4 separate regions of the Homo sapiens genome follow, and regions 1, 3 and 4 are each linked to region 2. Evidence: promoter capture Hi-C in human tissues and cell types (Jung and others, 2019). All regions are on one chromosome and are shown on one strand. The core of a region is centred on a gene start or on the middle of the fragment in contact, and the rest is flanking DNA. Distances in the headings are between cores, read along the strand shown. Region 1 overlaps DIP2C (disco interacting protein 2 homolog C). Region 2 holds the start of DIP2C (disco interacting protein 2 homolog C). Region 3 overlaps DIP2C (disco interacting protein 2 homolog C). Region 4 overlaps DIP2C (disco interacting protein 2 homolog C).

Evidence for each region. The method cuts DNA at HindIII sites, captures the fragments that hold promoters and counts their contacts. A contact is called where the count stands out against the background at its distance.
Region 1: a fragment that was not itself captured here is called in contact with the fragment with the promoter of DIP2C in region 2 in 2 of the 25 tissues and cell types used here (H1 embryonic stem cells and dorsolateral prefrontal cortex).
Region 3: a contact is called between a fragment that was not itself captured here and the fragment with the promoter of DIP2C in region 2, in 2 of the 25 tissues and cell types used here (dorsolateral prefrontal cortex and hippocampus).
Region 4: a contact is called between a fragment that was not itself captured here and the fragment with the promoter of DIP2C in region 2, in 1 of the 25 tissues and cell types used here (IMR-90 fibroblasts).

The regions. Positions count from the first base shown.
Region 1 is chr10:437,814-440,513 of GRCh38, reverse strand. All of the region lies in intron 4 of DIP2C (disco interacting protein 2 homolog C), which reads left to right. Among named protein-coding and RNA genes, the nearest start is that of DIP2C-AS2, 190 kb to the left of the region's middle. The HindIII fragment of the contact is 5,559 bases long and covers 1-2,700 here.
Region 2 is chr10:688,361-691,103 of GRCh38, reverse strand. It overlaps DIP2C (disco interacting protein 2 homolog C), which reads left to right and starts at 1,436. Exons shown (of 37, transcript NM_014974.3): 1 at 1,436-1,610. The coding sequence starts at 1,526. RefSeq lists an enhancer at 126-1,061. The HindIII fragment of the contact is 17,538 bases long and covers 1-2,743 here.
Region 3 is chr10:459,763-462,462 of GRCh38, reverse strand. The region is part of intron 3 of DIP2C (disco interacting protein 2 homolog C); the gene reads left to right. Among named protein-coding and RNA genes, the nearest start is that of DIP2C-AS2, 170 kb to the left of the region's middle. The HindIII fragment of the contact is 4,017 bases long and covers 1-2,700 here.
Region 4 is chr10:523,126-525,825 of GRCh38, reverse strand. All of the region lies in intron 1 of DIP2C (disco interacting protein 2 homolog C), which reads left to right. Among named protein-coding and RNA genes, the nearest start is that of DIP2C-AS2, 100 kb to the left of the region's middle. RefSeq lists an enhancer at 1,688-2,188. The HindIII fragment of the contact is 5,565 bases long and covers 1-2,700 here.

The DNA.
Region 1 (2,700 bases), core at 175-2,674, 250 kb after region 2:
CAAATCTTCATATAAATGTGCTATATTGTTGTATTGTTTTAGAACAAGCAAATTGGACAATTTAGGCAGTTACCCAAATCACGGGTCATAAACTTTGCCTGCAAGTTGCCAGATAGTATTTTAGTTCCTGCAGGCCATAAGGTCTGTCACAACCACTCAACTCTGCCCTTGGAGTGTGAAAGCAGCCATAGGTGATAGCAAGTGGGTATGGCTGTGTACCAATAAAACTTTATAAGAACAGCGGACCAGATTTGGTGCACAGATGTGCCAACCCCGATCTGAATTACTGAAGGTAATAGCCCATTTATATTTGTGTTATGTAATACTGCTTTTATTTAATCTTGAATTTTACATAACTACCCAAATTCTCTATTTTCTCTGCCCAAATAATTATAAACTACATCTCATGATCTTCCCACCCAAGTAAAGCAGAAAGTGTAGTTATCCAGATACTTGTTAGAAACATGGATTGAACCTACGTTGTTTGGTGTTTAGTTTCTGTGATTTTGATTCCAACATTATTCATGTGACAGTTGCAAGCTTGTCTTCTCAAAGGACCTAAATCACCTTACATCCCACTTTGAAGCTACACACCACTTTGACACCATTTTTTTCTCCACTACAAGAGAAACTTAAGGTACAATATGAATAGTTGAAAATGTACAATTTTTTGGGAGTATTTTTACTTTTGAAGTTTAGCTTGGTCTTGGCAAGCAGTGAGACAGAAGGACATGCATCAGATCAGAGCTGAGATCAAGCATATGCCCACATTATTCCAAGTAGCTCCTGAGTATTCACCTTTATACCTTTACTAATGAAGGTACTGAGATTGATAGGACAGAACTTAAAGAGTGCATAATTTGGGGTTTTTGTTGTTTTTTGTTTGTTTTGAGACAGGGTCTTGCTCTATCGCCACGGTCAGAATTCAGTGTCATGATTGCAGCTCTTGGCTCACTGCAGCCGTGACCACCTGGGCTCAGGCGGTCCTCCCACTTCAGCCTCTCAAGCACCTGGGACCACAGGTGCATGCCACCACACCCAGCTAATTTTTAAGTTTTTGTGGAGACAGGGTGTTCCTATGTTGTTGTTGTTTTTCATTTACACATGCGTGATCTTCGTCTAAAGAACACAGTGCCAGCGGGCAAGAGAGTGAACGCCGTGCTAGCAAATGCCAGTGGGCAAGGGAGTGAACGCCGTGCTAGCAAGGTTGTTGGCAAGGGAGTGAACGCCGTGCTAGCAAATGCTAGCGGGCAAGGGAGTGAACGCCGTGCTAGCAAGGTTGTTGGCAAGGGAGCTCTTTCTGCCAACGTGCTCCCTTGGGCTCCTCCTTTTCTTTATTTTAATATTAAGCAACAGCACGTAATTAGGGGCTAGGCACGGTAGCTCATGCCTGTAACTCCTGCACTTTGGGAGTCCAGGGCAGGCGTATGGCTTGAGCCCAAGAGTTCAAGACCAGCCCGGAAAACATGGCAAAATGTACCAAAATGCCTTTTGTACATTTTGTCTCCACCAAAAGTACAAAAAATTAGCTGGGCCTGGTGGTGTACACCTGTAGTCCCAGCTACTTGGGAGGCTGAGGTGGAAAAATCACTTGAGCCTGGGAGGCAGAGGTTGCCGTGAGCTGAGATGGCACCACTGCACTCCAGCCTGGGAAACACAGCAAGACCCCATCTCAATTAGAAAAAAATAACGATAATAAATAGAGACTCTTTAAAAATGATTAGGCCAGGCATGGTGGCTCATGCCTCCAGCCTCAGCACTTTGGGAAGCCAAGGCAGGCAGATTGCTTGAGTCCTGGAGTTTGAGACCAGCCTGGGCAACATTCCAAAACCCTGTCTCCACCAAAAATACAGAAATCAGCCAGGCATGGTGGTGTGTGCGCATAGTCCCAGCTGCTCGGGAGGCTGAGGTGGGAGGATCACTTGGGCCCAAGGAGGCTGAGGCTGCAGTGAGCCATGGTCATGCCACTGCACTGCAGCCTGGGCAACAGAGGAAGACCCTATCTCAAAAAAAAAAAATGCTTAATCCTGTTTGTTTAGTTTATGGTTATAATTTGCCAAAACTTATGGTAAAAAAATGTTATTTGTATGTGTTCTTTGTGTAACTAACAAAATGGACTTAAAAGGATAACCCACTTGAAATATTTTAAACCGAATTCTTGGCACTAACCGGTTATTTAAGGCAACACACATTTTTCTTGACCACTTTTTATAAGAGAAACGATGAGTTTGAAATGGAAGAAGCAGTGTGGTTATTTGCTTGCTTATTTCTCATATTGAATCCAACCACTGAGAGATGTTACTGGGTCATGTGTGATGAATAACCTCATTGTACAGATGTCTTTGCAAAATGCAAAAGAATATTTGAAATGTTATTTTTGTGAAATATTTGGATTTGACTAGCATTTTTATATAAACCATAAAAAACCTTCTGTAAATTTTCATCAGGAGTCCTTGTGATATCACATGGGGTAGTTTTGTACAATCATAAATATCAATATCATAAAAATTTTTTACTCCCAGCTATTTTGTGCTTAGCAGTAGTCTGCATGTTTATTACCCTGCTTACTTGAACAAAATCTTAGCTGCATTTTCTTACCTATTTTTCTTGGTTGTTGGTAACAGTGGTTAGATCTTATCTCAGTTTCATTGCTCTTCAGAGAATATTCTTAAAGTTTATCTTCTATGAAATGACTGGCTG
Region 2 (2,743 bases), core at 187-2,686:
GGGTGGAGGCCGGGAGCAGAGGTGCTGCGGGTCAGCCGCGTTGTTTGCAGGAGCCGGAGTGTGGAGGCCGCAAGGCTGCCGTGCAGGTGGGTCCCGGCTGGTGGGGGCTCCGGTCGAAGCGGGGTGGGGGGGTGGTGGGGGGTAGGGGTAGGGGGGTGAGGTGGGGGACCTGTGTTCCTGCGGCCCACTCTGAAAGGGGAGTGAGTGCAGCTGGGCCTCCGGGAGCCAGCGCTGGCCAATGTCCCGTGGAGGACGGGGAGGCGAGGAGGTCTTTAGGAAGCTCTGGGCCTAAGGGAGGGGCCGGGCTGGGAAGAGGGGGTACAAGGATGAAAAGGAGGCCAGGTCGTCGGGGCTTTGTGCAACAGACTGGGGAGGATGTGTGGAGACAGAGGAAGGTGATGATGAAGACAACGGGGGCGGTTCTGAGAAGCAGAACTTCCAGTGACTAAGAGTCACTGGAAGCAGCTGGCTTCATTTAGGGTTTGTGGCGTTTGGGGTGTCTAGGGGCTTCCAGGGAAGTTTGCTCAGTGGACGGTTGGAGATGCGAGGGCCTCCCCAGATGGTCAGGACTAGAGGCACAGACGGGGCTTCAGCCTCGCCGAGGTGGCACTGAGGCTGGGAGCTGATGGCCCCACAAGGAGAAGGACGGTGGGAACCCTGGGGCCTGCAGCCTGTTCCGGGAGGGCTGGAGCCAGGCTTTTCGGGCCCACCTGGCATTTGGAGATTAGGTGACCCAACCTTGTCTTCCCATCCCCTTTTCACAGATGGGGACACTGACCCTCCAGGCAAAGGCTCAGAGTCGCTCAAGGTCATCTGCTGGTCGTTGCATTCGAAACTTCCAGCCTAGCGCTCCGTCTCCGCCTCTTAAAATGTTCATTAACAAAAAACCAGCCCTCCAAGACCCGGGGCACTGCGAGTTTTCGCGCAGACGTCAAGCTGCGGCTCCAGGACGTGATTTTCGCAGGGAGCCGGGTGGACCAGGCTCTGGGGCCGGGCCCGCAGGCTCCGCTGGACGCGCAGAGCCCAGGACAGACAAGACCGCCCCGCCCCGCCCCGCCCCGCGGGCCCCGAGCCCCCAACCCGCCCCCGAGCGCGCCCCCGGGAGCGCGCGCTTCGCCGACGCGGCCGCGCGCCCCCCCGCGCGCTCCCGCTCCTGCGCGTCCTCGCGCCCCGCGCGCGCGCGCCCTGCCCCCGCGGCCCCGTGACGCGCGCGCGCAGAGACGCTCCCGCCGGGCCGGGGCCGAGAGCAGCAGGGCCGGGTCCGGGTCCGCAGCGCCTGCGGGGAGGGGCCGAGCGCGCGCGGGGCGGGCCGGGGACCGTGGGGCGCGGGGGCGCGCGAGGCGGCCGTGGCGGGGCCGCGCTGAGGAGGCGCCGAGGGGAGGGAGGTCCCTGCGCGCCCGCCGCCCGCCTCCCGCGCCCGCGCCGCCGCCTCCTCCTCGGTGCGGTTCCGCCGGGCGCGAGGAGCCGCCGAGACCTCCGCCTGCGAACAAAGAGGAGGCCGTGCGGGGCGCGGCGCCCGCGGAGCATGGCGGACCGCAGCCTGGAGGGCATGGCGCTGCCCCTGGAGGTGCGGGCGCGCCTGGCCGAGCTGGAGCTGGAGCTGTCGGAAGGTAACCGGGCCCCCGCCCCGGGCCGGGCCGCGCTGTCACCGGGGAGGGCCGCGCGCGGAGGGCTGGGGGCGCGGGGCCTGCGGCGGGGCGGGGGCCGGGCCCGGAGGGGGAGGTGCGACCCCAGCCCGGAGCGTGCGCGTCCCCCGGACCCCCAGACCCCGCGCCCTAGGGACGTTTGTGAGGCCGCGATCCCCCGCGCTCTGGGGACGTTTGTGGGGCCGCGATTCCCCGCGCCCTGGGGGTGTCTGTGGGGCCTGGGATCCCCTCGCGCTCTGGGGGTGTTTGTGGGGCCGCGATCCCCCGCGCCCTGGGATGTTTGTGGGGCCGCGATCCCCCCGCGCCCTGGGGGTGTCTGTGGGGCCTGGGCGCCGCGCGGGGACGCAGGATGCAGCGGGCCCGGCGGGATCGGCCTTCCCGTGCGCTCTGCGCTGGAGCCGCGGCGTCCTTGGTGCAGCAGCGCGGTGCGCGCCACCTCCTCGCTGGCGGGTTCGGCCTGGAACGCCCGGCCAGATTTCAATGCGAAACTTGTCGTTGGACCCCGGGTTCGATCTCTGGTGGCTCAGGCCGTGCAGCGGTCCTGGCGCGGCCCGGGGGATCCCACCCCCATTGTTCGCGGGCGCTGCGCGGGGAGGGCTGGGCGGAATCGTCAACCTCCCCCCGGGCCGGGCTCCGGCCTTGCCGTCCTGGTCCTCTCGTAGGAGGGTTTGTGGCAGATCAGCCACCGCGGTCTTATGGAGGGTTGTGTACGCCTCTTATTTGCTCTTCATGGCGGAGATCATGTGCTCAACTGTCATAAGTTTCAGATCGGGCTTTGCCAGGTCTTTTCCCCAAAACCACTGAAGTTCCCAAATCTGAAATGTTTGATGTGCATTTAGCCGTCTCTGGGCTCATCCTGGTCAGGCCATTCCTGTAACGTGGGGTGGGGTGGGGGTGGGCCGGCGCGTCTCACATTTATATTTGGAGCAGTTTAGCATGGTGAACTTTTTTTGGGTAACGGTTTTGTGAGGGCCGGCAGCCAGAAAGTAAACTCATTCGTGCCAATTTTCACCGGCAGGGAGGAGCTGGTGTTGACTTTATGTTTTCCTTTTTAACACTTTCAGGGCAAAGAAGGGAGTGAGCAGGGGCCATGGTGT
Region 3 (2,700 bases), core at 157-2,656, 230 kb after region 2:
TTGAGAGGGTGTATGTGTCCTGGAATTTATCCATTTCTTCTAGATTTTCTAGTTTATTTGCATAGAGATGTTTACAGTATTCTCTGGTAGTTTGTATTTCTGTGGGATCAGTGGTGATATCCCCTTTATCATTTCTTATTGTGTCTATTTGATTCTTCTCTCTTTTCTTCTTTGTCTGGCTAGTGGTCTATCTATTTTGTTGATCTTTTCCAAAAACCAGCTCCTGGATTCATTGATTTTTTTGAAGAGTTTTTCGTGTCTCTGTCTCCTTCATTTCTGCTCTGATCTTAGTTATTTCTTGTCTTCTGCTAGCTTTTGAATTTGTTTGCTCTTTCTTCTCTAGTTCTTTTAATTATGATGTTAGGGTATCGATTTTAGATCTTTCCTGCTTTTTCTTGTGGGCATTTAGTGCTATAAATTTCCCTCTACACACCTCTTTATCTGTGTCCCAGAGATTCTGGTACATTGTCTTTTGTTCTCATTGGTTTCAAAGAACTTATTTATTTCTGCCTTAATTTCATTATTTACCCAGTAGTCATTCAGGAGCAGGTTGTTCAGTTTCCATGTATTTGTGCAGTTTTGAGTGAGTTTCTTAACTGTGAGTTCTAATTTGATTGCACTGTAGTCTGAGAGACTGTTTGTTATGATTTCCATCCTTTTGCATTTGTTGAGTGTTTTACTTCCAATTATGTGGTCAGTTTTAGAATAGGTGCAATTTGGTGCTGAGAAGAAGGTATATCCTATTGATTTGGGGTGGAGAGTTTTGTAGATGTCTATTAGGTCCGCTTGGCCCAGAGCTGAGTTCAAGTCCTGAATATCCTTGTTAATTTTCTGTCTCAATCTGTCTAATACTGACGTTGGGGTGTTAAAGCCTCCCACTGTTACTGTGTGGGAGTCTAAGTCTCTTGGTAGGTATCTAAGAACTTGCTTTATGAATCTGGGTGCTCCTGTATTGGGTATGTATATATTTAGGATAGTTGGCCCTTCTTGTTGTATTGATCCCTTTGCCATTGTGTAATGCCCTTCTTTGTCTTTTTTGATCTTTGTTGGTTTAAAGTATGTTTTATCAGAGACCAGGATTGCAACTCATGCTTTTTTTGCTTTGTAAATATTCCTCCATCCTTTATTTTGAGCCTATGTGTGTCTTTGCACATGAGATAGGTCTCCTGAATACAGCACACCAACGGGTCTTGACTCTATCCAGTTTGCCAGTCTGTGTCTTTTAATGGGGGCATTTAGCCCATTTACATTTAAGGTTAATATTGTTATGTGTGAATTCGATCCTGTCATTATGATGCTAGCTGGTTATTTTGCCCATTAGTTGATGCAGTTTCTTCACAGTGTCAGTGGTCTTTACAATTTGTTATGTTTTTGCAGTGGCTGGTACCAGTTTTTCGTCTCCATATTTAGTGCTTCCTTCAGGAGCTCTTGTAAGGCAGACCTGGTGGTGACAGAATCTCTCAGCATCTGCTTGTCTGTAAATGATTATATTTCTCCTTCACTTACAAAGCTTAGTTTGGCTGGATAGGAAATTCTGGGTTGAAAATTCTTTAAGAATGTTGAATATTGGCCCCCACTCTCTTCTGGCATGTCGGGTTTCTGCAGAGAGATCCGCTGTTAGTCTGATGAGCTTCCCTTTGTGGGTAACCCTACCTTTCTCTCTGGCTGCCCTTAACATTTTTTCCTTCATTTTAATCTTGGTGAATCTGACAATTATGTGTCTTGGGGTTGCTTTTCTCAAGGAGTATCTTCGTGATATTCTCTGTATTTCTCAATTTGAATGTGGGCCTGTCTTGGTTGGTTGGGGAAGTTCTCCTGGATAATATCCTGAAGAGTGTTTTCCAACTTGTTCCATTCTCCCCATCAATGACTGAATTTTAGCAGCCCAGAAATAATTTTGTTATTGCTTACATAATTGACCTAGTTAATAATTAATCTACTCAGCCATTTAACCTCTACTGGATGTATTTTCTCATTTCATTTCTAAACCCATGACCTTACTTTGTAATGAATTCTTATGAAAGCTCTTCATCATAGTACATATCTTCTCTTTATAAATAGCTTTCTTTTGGAACTTGAGCTTGATTTGGGAAGTAAGTGAATGAGCTGGCATTTATTGAGCACCTAGAATGTATTGGAGTCGATTTTAAGCACTTCATTACCTTTACTTGATAAACTCTCAGTTAGAGCTTAGATTCTAGCTTTAGTTATCACCTTTTTTTCCCCAACCAACAACTCTGGAAAAGAAAACCTGGAGACTTGTGTTGTGCCCATTCCACCCAAGACTGGGAGAGGAAGATCCTAGAGCTCATGTGCAGCATGCCGTTCCCTGATGTGACTGTGAGAGGAAGATCCTAGAGCCCACGTGCAGCACGCGATCCCTTGATGTGACTGTGGGAGGAAGATACTAGAGCTCATGTGCAGCACGCGGTTCCCTGATGTGGCTGTGGGAAGATACTAGAGCTCACGTGCAGCAGGTGGTTCCCTGATGTGACTGTGGGAAGGTCCTAGAGCTCACGTGCAGCAGGTGGTTGGTTCCCTGATGTGACTGGGAAGGTCCTAGAGCTCACGTGCAGCAGGTGGTTCCCTGATGTGACTGTGAGAGGAAGATCCTAGAGCCTACGTGCAGCACGCAGTTCCCTGATGTGGCTGTGGGAAGGTCCTAGAGCTCACGTGCAGCAGGTGGTTCCCTGATGTGAC
Region 4 (2,700 bases), core at 14-2,513, 170 kb after region 2:
TCTCTTGGCAGGTCACTCAGGCCCGGCTGTCTCATTGAGATGCCTGGCCATCGCAGGGTTAGCTGAGTCACCTGCACAGCTGGTGTGGGTGTGCTGATGGGTGTACGGGGCTGGCCTGTCTTCCTTTCTCCACCTACGAAGCATTCAAAGGCCTGTTATCCTACCCTGTTCTCTCCCTGTCCTCAGTGGGCAAGCAGGAGGTTCATTTTCACTTGCAGATGAGGAAAATTCTGAAGTCTTGTAAAGCAGCCAAGATCATATTCAGAATCTTCTTTGTTCCAATCAGCTCGAATTTTTACAGTTAGAAAGACTTTTCCTCAAACACTTTGTATTTGTTCTGTATGAGAAGTGCCGTAGACTTTGCTGTTGTTTTACTAATTAGTATCTGTACTGTGTTCTGCTGTCCATCACAAATGTATGTATTTTCATTCTGAGATACGCTGAGTCTCAGCCTTTGCAATCCAGAGGGATTTCATGTGTGTTCATAAAAGCTTCTATCAGAAACCACATTCCGAATAGCTGTGGACATACAACCTGCTTGTGACTTGGAAATTGCTGAAGTCAAATTCTATCTCGGTTTGAGGCGTTAGGAGCTTTAGAAATTTTGAAATTATAAAATGAAAATGTGATAAAATTAAGTACATTTAAACAAAAGAGATATGCTGTGGGTTTTAAGGGCTGTGATGCATTTAAGAATGCTTTTCTGTATTTTAGATTTGGTTGTCTTTAAGGATGTCATGTTCCATCCAAACTACAAATACATGAGATAATTTAAATGTAAGTTGAACCCTTCAGAATATCCTGGATTTGGTCTTGATCTTCTGACCTTGAAAATGTGATTCTTTTTTTTTTTTTTTTGAAATTGTGATTGTCTTAAACTGTGTGTCTAGACCATCTCCTCTGAATTGCTTTGGAAACATCTGCACGGGCATCTTCCTGTTCTTGAGTATAGAGAGGTGGACATCATTACGCTTTAAAATAGCGAAAGTCCTGTAGAGCAGTTTTTCTTAATCAGTGATGGTATTTAAAAATGAACTCCCTAATGCTTAAACTAATGAGCTATTATTGTTGGAAGTATTCAAGGTAGCAAGTTATAGAATCTCTCAGTGAAAGTGATTTGAAATAAGAAATTGCGAGAGTGCAATGCATTCTTTGTTTTTAAAATAAAACGCTAATACTTAGAGAATGTTTTGTTTGCAAGAATGTAAGATGTTATGTCTTTGTATAGAATTTAAGGATAGTAATTTGCTTCTGAGATCTTTGAGATTTGAAATCTCAACTATGGTTTATCGTCCATGTTTTATACATTTGCACATATACACATATATATGTAAGGTATATAAAAGTAGAGGAAAATAAGCATGTATATATTTACATGTATATACACTTCTATAATGTGTATACTTCCAGTCACATATAGGTCTGAGTGACTGATTTTACTTGATGACCATGAAGGTAATTAAATAATTTTCCTGCTGTTAGCCTTGCTTTTTGCATCTGAGCAGGGACCCTGTGAAGTGTGCCTCCCGCGTTCCAGGCCTCACACAGTCTGTACCAGGGTTTGGAAGCAGGGGTTTTTCTGCAGCCACTTCAAGAAGCAGGTGGTTGCCAGGATTGCCTGGAGCTCCAGGCTGCCTCCAGTTCCAGCCTCCCTGGGGTAGAAGCTGCCCCACTAGGGGCCTTGACATGGACGTTAGGGCCTGGAGCCAGGGACTCCTTCCTGAAGGGGTGCTCCAGTCACGGCTGGGCGTGAGAACTGAGGGCGGGAGGTGGAACCAGCCTCGGGCCATTGCACGGCCTCCTGGGAGTGCTTATGGGAAGCCCCAGCCACCCTTTGCTGACCCCACAGCCAGCATCAAACTCTGAGATCCCCTTGGCCCACCCCTCAGGTTCCTAAAATGCTTTGGGTTTCCTGGGCTGCGAATTTTTAGGTCTAGGCTAAAAGGTCCTGGGACAGAGTCACAGGGTTCTTTATGTGTAAAAGCGACAAGTGTGCTGGTAACTCAGAGCAGTCCCTGCATCCTCGCTCCAGGGTCCTTTGCGTCAGGTGGAAACGGGCGTGTTGGTCACACAGAGTCCCTGCATCTTCACTCCAGGGTCCTTTGCATCCAGTAGAAACGAGTGTGTGGGTGACACAGAGTCCCTGCATCGTCACTCCAGGGTCCTTTGCATCCGGTAGAAACGAGTGTGCGGGTCACACAGAGTCCCTGCATCCTCACTCCAGGGTCCTTTGTGTCATGTGGAAACGAGCGTGTGGGTCATGCAGAGTCCCTGCATCCTCACTCCAGGGTCCTTTGCTCAGGTAGAAACGAGTGTGTGGGTGACACAGAGTCCCTGCATCCTCACTCCAGGGTCCTTTGCATCCAGTAGAAACGAGTGTGTGGGTGACACAGAGCCCCTGCATCTTCACTCCAGGGTCCTTTGCATCCGGTAGAAACGAGTGTGTGGGTGACACAGAGTCCCTGCATCGTCACTCCAGGGTCCTTTGCATCCGGTAGAAACGAGTGTGTGGGTCACACAGAGTCCCTGCATCCTCACTCCAGGGTCCTTTGCTCAGGTGGAAACGAGTGTGTGGGTCATACACAGTCCCTGCATCCTTACTCCAGGGTCCTTTGCATCAGGTGGAAACGAGCTTGTGGGTCAGAGTCCCTGCATCTTCACTCCAGGGTCATTTGTGTAAGGTAGAAACGAGTGTGTGGG